Linked DNA regions of Homo sapiens: region 2 is linked to region 1. The links are contacts of gene promoters, found by promoter capture Hi-C in blood cells and fetal thymus (Javierre and others, 2016). All regions are on one chromosome and are shown on one strand. The core of a region is centred on a gene start or on the middle of the fragment in contact, and the rest is flanking DNA. Distances in the headings are between cores, read along the strand shown.

Evidence for each region. The method cuts DNA at HindIII sites, captures the fragments that hold promoters and counts their contacts. A CHiCAGO score of 5 or more calls a contact.
Region 2: a contact is called between the fragment with the promoter of THAP1 here and the fragment with the promoter of LSM1 in region 1, in 3 of 17 cell types (non-activated CD4 T cells, fetal thymus and total CD8 T cells). The highest score is 8.9, in non-activated CD4 T cells.

The regions. Positions count from the first base shown.
Region 1 is chr8:38,175,142-38,178,885 of GRCh38, forward strand. LSM1 (LSM1 homolog, mRNA degradation associated) reads right to left here and starts at 1,352. Exons shown (of 4, transcript NM_014462.3): 1 at 1,134-1,352. The coding sequence starts at 1,179. BAG4 (BAG cochaperone 4) reads left to right here and starts at 1,714. Exons shown (of 5, transcript NM_004874.4): 1 at 1,714-1,998. The coding sequence starts at 1,729. RefSeq lists enhancers at 320-1,177, 757-846, 1,178-2,035, 1,257-1,406, 2,317-2,656. The HindIII fragment of the contact is 945 bases long and covers 1,057-2,001 here.
Region 2 is chr8:42,841,820-42,845,418 of GRCh38, forward strand. It overlaps THAP1 (THAP domain containing 1), which reads right to left and starts at 1,506. Exons shown (of 3, transcript NM_018105.3): 1 at 1,205-1,506. The coding sequence starts at 1,275. It overlaps LOC124901940 (a long non-coding RNA gene), which reads left to right and starts at 1,115. Exons shown (of 2, transcript XR_007060901.1): 1 at 1,115-1,564; 2 at 1,948-3,593. RefSeq lists enhancers at 1,099-1,889, 1,225-1,584 and a silencer at 1,105-1,194. The HindIII fragment of the contact is 1,565 bases long and covers 701-2,265 here.

The DNA.
Region 1 (3,744 bases), core at 102-2,601:
GCGATCTCGGCTCACTGCAACCTTCTCCTCCCGGGTTCAAGCGATTCTCCCGCCTCAGCCTCCCGAGTAGCTGGGATTACAGGCACCGCCATAGTGCCCAGCTAATTGTAGGAACGGGGTTTCACCATGTTGGCTAGGCTGGTCTTGAACTCCCGACCTCAGGCGATCTGCCCGCCTCGGCCCCCCAAAGTGCTGGGATTACAGGCGTGAGCCACCGCGCCAGGCCCGTAAAATGAAATTTTAACCATAGATTCTAAATTGCGTATTCACAGAGTAACTGAGACGATTGCAACTTATTTAAAACTATGTGTAAATCATCTTGAAACAAGTTAATGAGAAAGATCACATGATTAAAACAATAAAAAATGTTGCTTGAGGAATAATGCACAGACGGAATTTAGAAAAAAGGAAAGCCAGAACAACTGCAGACGGTTCTTTTCGCTTTTGTATAGGACTGAGCTCCTCTTCCGGACAAAAACCAGGAATAAGGGAGGTCTTCTTAGTAAAAGCAAAAGTAAATTGTCTTAAAAAAAAAAAAAAGGTTGCAAGTGATTTGGTCTTTCCAGAAAAGTCAATACCATGTCTAACAGTGGTCTCTACTACAATAACCTGAAGGTGCTAATGACCCTCACAGTAAAATAAGCTAGCAAATGGCCACACCGTAGAGCGCCTACATTTACTGCCAATTAAGTCCAACTGCCGCTGTCTTAATATTTTCGCTTTTTAATGAATCCTCTCTCTAGGTATTCCGATCCATCCACCGGTAACACGCTGATACTTCGAAATACTGCAGGCAGGAGTGGACGGGGGAGAAGCCCCCCCCCTCCCCGGGCTTCTTTCGTGTTCGGGCCTCTGCTGCCGCGATCCACGGAAGCAAGAATGAGTTCCATCGCTTGGGGCTCACCAGCTAGAGGGCTGGCGGAGGCTGCGAGGGGCAGAAGTAGCAGCAGGCTACTGGGTGGGCAAGCGGTGTGTACCGCAGCTGTGGAGGACATCGACGCGGAACGCCCGGATTGAGCTCAGAACACACCGGCCCCGCCCGGGACTCATTCTACAAGCTTCTTCGGAAGAGGCGCCCGCCCGGGAGGAAGGGTCTAACCCCGGGCTCCACCGGGAGGAGATAAACTACTCACTGTCAATGTCCTCGATGAGGCTGGCGGTGCCAGGCATATAGTTCATTTTGAACTGAAATAATGCTGCAATGCACAGCGGCGGGAGGCCAGCGCGTCCAAAACCTCTTCCCTCCTACCGCAGTCGCCGCCTCGGTGGGACCAAGCCCGGAATCCCGACCGAGACCAGCACTTCTGCCCCGGCTTTCAGCCGCCGGGGGCTGCCGGAAGCTCCTCCATATTACCCTTACCCACTTCCTGTAACACGTGTGGGCCCCCAGGAAGAGGCGGGGCAGCCGTACCGTTGGGGGACACCCTTTCCCTGTTCCTGTTAAGTAGGTAAGAGGAAACTCCATTGGATAAATGGCGAGGAAACGTATACTCCCTCTTAAGGAACACGGTGTCTTCCTTCGTCTCCGGGTTCCCGAGACCCCAGAGTCACTGACCTCCGTCCCTCAGCTTTCGGGGTTCGGCAGCAGAAGGGGCGGGCCCGGGCCTGGGATTGGCTGGCGTCGTCCGACCCCCTTCGCTGCTCTCCATTCGCAATCGCCCGCGGGCGCCTGCGCGATGGGTCGGCCGTGGGGAGCGGGGCGGGAAGCGCTTCAGGGCAGCGGATCCCATGTCGGCCCTGAGGCGCTCGGGCTACGGCCCCAGTGACGGTCCGTCCTACGGCCGCTACTACGGGCCTGGGGGTGGAGATGTGCCGGTACACCCACCTCCACCCTTATATCCTCTTCGCCCTGAACCTCCCCAGCCTCCCATTTCCTGGCGGGTGCGCGGGGGCGGCCCGGCGGAGACCACCTGGCTGGGAGAAGGCGGAGGAGGCGATGGCTACTATCCCTCGGGAGGCGCCTGGCCAGAGCCTGGTCGAGCCGGAGGAAGCCACCAGGTAAGCTTTGCACCCTCTGTCCTTGCGGGGAGGTGAGGGCCCTTGGGGCTGGGGTTCGTAAAGGATCGGGTTTCATACTTGTTTTCCTTATGTGGAGGAGGGTGTGTTGCGGGGGGTGTTGGAGAGACCGAGACTAAGATCAGAGGTTGGGGGGACATGCTTGTGTTCCCTTTGCCCCTCCTTTTCTGCTTCGACCCCAAAAAATATGTTTATTACCATTTAAAAAAGAAAGATCCTGCGCGGACTTACTAAGCTTAGCAGCAGGCTGCAGATCTCTCTCCTGGGAGCGGTGCTGGGTAGGGGTGGCACGGATCTACTGCTCCAGCTCTAGCAATTTATCCTGCGTGGCTGGCAGGCCGGCTCTCCCGGGGAAGGGAAGTGGCTGCAGCCCCCGATGCCGCTCAGGGACCCTCCCGAGGGGAAGGAACCTTTGCGAGGAGGAGGGATCTGGGCATTTAGCTGTTTGCCCCTAATGCCTTGCCTGAGATCGAATCATGAATAATCAGTGTTGTAAAGTACCTTTACGCGGATTGACTGATTTAATTTTCACGGCGACTGCAAGGTAAAATGGCATTACAGCGGCCCTTTTTTTTGTTTTCGAATAAGGAACCGGGGCTCTGCGAGGTTAACTCACTTGCCTAATACACTTGGACCTGCAACATTTTATTCTCCGTTTTCCTGCCGGACATATACTTCTGCTTTGTTAATACAGTCTTCTGGGTAGTGGGTTGTCGTTCTGCGGTGGCAGCATACCTCTCTGTTCGTTCAAGAATTATCCTCATTTGTTGAAAATGTAATAGTGAAATTCTCGTACATTGCTGGTGGGGATGTAAAATGGTGGAAAATAGTTTGGTAGTTCCTCAAAACATTAAGCATTAGAATTAGTCTATGACCCAGCAAGCCCACTCCTGGCTATATACCCAAGAAAACTGATAACGTATGTTCACATAAAGCTTGTCCGCCCATGTTCATAGCATCATTATTCATAATCGCCAAAAAGTAGAAATGTCGTTTTTTTTGTTTTTTTTTTTTTTGAGTTGGAGTCTCGCTCTGTTGCCCAGGCTGGAGTGCAGTGGTGCCATCTCGGCTCACTGCAACCTCCGCCTCCCGGTTTAAGCGATTCTCCTGCCTCAGCCTCTCGAGTAGCTAGGATTACAGGCGCCGGCCATCACACCCGGCTAATTTTTGTATTTTTAGTACAGACGGGGTTTCGCCATGTTGGCCAGGATGGTCTTGAACTCCTGACCTCAAGTGATCCCCCTTTCCCCTGCCCCTCGGCCTCCCGAAGTGTTGGGATTACAGGCGTGAGCCACTGCGCTCGGCCCCAAATGTCATTTTATTATTTGAGTTATAAAGTGAGTGAACCTCTTGGAGCCCTGGTTCTTTATTCGAATACAGGAATGTTGTAAGGACATAACGACTGATGCATCGATAAACAAAATATGGTGTTAATATATTCATTCAATGGAGTATTATTTGGCCTTAGAAAGGAATGAACTGCTGATGCATGCTACAATATGAATGAACCTTGAAAACATCACACTACGTGAGCTAAGTCAGTCAGAAAGACTGCATATTGTGTGATTCCATTTATATGAAATGGCCAGAGTAGGTAAATCTAGAGACAGAAAGCTTAATGGTTGCCAGAGGTTGGGGGACTGGCGGTGTAGGTGAGAATATTCTTTTTGGGATAATGAAATGTTCTAAAATCAGGGCCTGGTGAGATGGCTCACACCTGTAATCCCA
Region 2 (3,599 bases), core at 256-2,755, 4.7 Mb after region 1:
CCTCTAAGTGTTCTATCCCCTTCTCCAAGGGGTAACATTATTACTCTGGAGACCTCTCTATGTTCTACACACTCTTATTTCTATAGGGTCCATCTCACATGATATCAAACATATTTAAAAAATGCATGGACACTCCCCTAGTAAACACAGATGGCCCCACAGCAAAAAAATAAATTAACTGAAAAGATATTTAACATTTTGCTTTTGTAATTATTTACCTAATTATAAAAGATAATTAGCTAATTACCTATGGCTAATCTGTATAGTTTACCCCTGGATCTGATTTCTTACCTATCATCTGCGTATAGCTGTCAGGAATTCTTGCAAAGAAAACTTAACATAAATGTAATTAAAATTTGTAAACAAATTCAGCTGAATGAAAATGTTATGTCACATTTTACAAGCGTTTATCATAAGTAATTACAACTCTGCACTTTTTTCCTATTTTCAAGAGAATATTTTTGATCCTATCACTTAACTGTGCTACCTACTGGATAAGACAGCTCTGAAAGCTGTGGGGCAGTTTCTTTCGAAAGAGCTTTCTCTATGCACAGGTAATGCCATAATAAATAAAGATCCGTGTGAGTCATTTTATTATGATCCATGTTGTAACTGTCCATATTATCATTATTGTGTGCTGAAAAGATAACGATTTATCTCGGCAGTACCTGAAGCTTTCTCCAAAATACAGGGTCCTTAAAGCTTAGTTCCTAGAGATTGGGGGCAAAAATTCTCCCTGATTTCCCAGCCAAAAAACCCTTAATTGCTACGATGCTGGCCTCCCATCCACGGCAAGGGCGAAAAGTAGTGATTTCTTCGTTTAAAGGCCTTTGTTTCTATTTTAAATTTACCCCTAAGACCATATTAAAACACCTGGCTGCTCTGTGACCCTGGTGGTGGCAAAACCCGCGCCACCCTAGGCATCGCCCGTGGGCTCCGAACGCGTCAACCCAGGCCGTGAGCGAAGCCTGCAACCAGGGCCTGTTCCAGGAGCGCGAGAAACGGCTGCCGCGGCGACGCGCGCCGAGAACGCGCGATCGGGCGGCGGTTCCCAGCGGGACGCGGTGGGAAACGCCCGACACGGCCGGCCCCAGACCCCACCCGCCCCTCGCGCGGACACGCGCCTGGCTCCGCCCCCGGCCCCGCCGGCCGCGCGCCCCCACCCCGGCTGAGACCGGCCCCGCGAGGCGCGCAGGGTCCTCACTTGTGGAAAGAAACGGGCTTGTCCTTGTCGTAGCGGTTCTTGCAGCCGTAGGCGGAGCAGGACTGCACCATCCTTCCGGTCCTCAGGCACTTCACTTCTGCCGCCGCAGAAGGCAGGGGAAGCTGTTCTCAGTGTCGCTGCGCTCGGTTGGATTCCCTCGCTTCTTTTGTAGCTTTGGCCAACAGTTACAGTGATGGTGGCCTCCCTCGGGGGTGACTAGTGTGCCCGTTTTGTTGTTTGCATTAGCAGAAGGACCACAGCCATCGCCCGTCTCCCATCTCCAAGATGGCGGAGGCAGCTTCAACCTCACCTCTCGCGAGGGGTGCGTCCCACTGTCTCTGATTAGCCCCGAGGTCAGAGGTAACGTTTCCTGGGAAGCTAACTATTGGCTGAGGCCAGGTGTTTCCGGCGGTGGCTTCAGAGTTGCCGAAGTGGGCGGAGCCCTGAGCTTCCGGCAGGCAGGAAGGAACTGCTTGTGGGGGGAGGAGGCGCGGCGGGAGGCCGGATTCCTGGGGCATCCTCCAGCCCCGGGCTGTTCCCGTGGGTTAATTGATGCGGACCTTTTCTGGGGCAGCTTACAGTAGGGAACAACTAGGGCCTCTTGGAGAACAGGTGTAAAGCCGAGGTCGTTGGCTGATTGCGCCCATTTCTTTAAAAGGGCGGACACAGATGGTGTATGATTAATAAAATTGTGGAACCTTTTCCCAGAGTGCTAATCTTTATCCCATTACCTGTGTCTTCAGGTATCACAAGTTTCTGTGAGAGCCAACGTGACAGATTTTTAGCAATGAAAAAAGACACACTCGCCAAATCATCTCAATTGCCAACGCAGAAGCGTTTTATATATATGTATGTATATGTATGTATATATGTGTGTATGTATATATGTGTGTGTGTATGTATATATATATATATATATGTAATTTTTTAAATAAATAGAGGCGTTGTCTCCCCACGTTGCCCAGGTCAGTCTGGAACTCGAGCTCAAGGGATCCTCCCATCTCGACCTCCCCATGGGTTGGGATTACAGGAGTTGAGCCACCAGGCTGTCCCTCCCCAGAAGCTTTTCTGAAGGCTCTCCATTGCTGTGATTTCCATGTGCTGTGTTGCAAATAGCGAACTGCTGCAGCAATTTTCACACCTGAGAGAGAATATGTTAGAGGGGTTCGAACTAGAGCGACTCTGTGTTGAGTGAGGGCTAGGAAAATGAGGCTGGGACTTGCTGGGCTGCATTCCCGGGAAGTTAGGTATTCCTAGCCTCTAGATGTGTATACCATTAAGGCAACAGATTGATAATGTTTACTACACAGACCCAGACTACCAAGTGTCCAGATATCCCGATATTTTGAGAACAGAAGCATTCCTAATTTTGCTTTAAAGATAATAATATTGGGCTGGGCACAGTGCCTCACGCCTGTAATCCCAGCACTTTGGAAGGCCGAGGCGGGCGGATCACTTGAGGTCAGGAGTTCAAGACTAGCCTGGTCAACATGGTGAAAACGTCTCTACTAAAAATACAAAAATTAACCGGGTGTGGTGGCACATGCCCTCGAATTTCAGCTACTCTGGAGGCTGAGGCAGGATAATCGCTTGAATCCGGGAGGCGGGGGTTGCAGTGAGCCGTGCTTGCACCACTGCACTCCAGCCTGGGCGACAGAGTAAGACTCTGTCTCATAAATAAAGATAATATCGATTCTTACATAATATAGTAATTAATCCTTTATCACAAACCCTTGTAGCAAAGCACATCTCCCCATGATCTTTTTTTATCCTATATATAAACTAAGTGTTGTACTTAGGGTGGACGCGTTCCTCCTCTTACTTTCGGGAATGCCCTACTCTGTCTGTGGAGTAGCTGTACTTTCACCACTTTACGTTCTTAATAAACTTGCTTTTGCTTTGTACTGTGGACTTGCCCTGAATTCTGTCTTGCGTGAGATCCAAGAACCCTGTCTTGGGGTCTGGATTGGGACCCCTTTCCTGTAACAGTTTTACTTCATTCCCTGCTCCTTTTCTTTATATAGATCTGAGCCAGGCAGACCTGGAGAGCGGACTGTTGAGTAATCCCTTGGCCCTTATTCTCTACCTTTCCTGCCCTTTTAAATGTTGCTGTTTCCCCAGGGTTCCATCTTCTGCCCTCCTCTAACTCCTAAACACCCTGCTCCTTAAACTGAACCAAATACCATAATTCTCTCATCTTTTATTTCCTTTGTATATCCGTTCTGCCTTTGGGATTATCATCTGTGAATTATCATCTGTGAATTATCTGTTCAACAGTTGTCTAAACCAGAAACCTTGGAGTCATCTTGGATTTTTTTTGTCACCCATAAAACCCGTTGATGACCAGGTTAATTTTGTAGACTAAATAAATAAATGCCCCTTAAATCCATCCCTC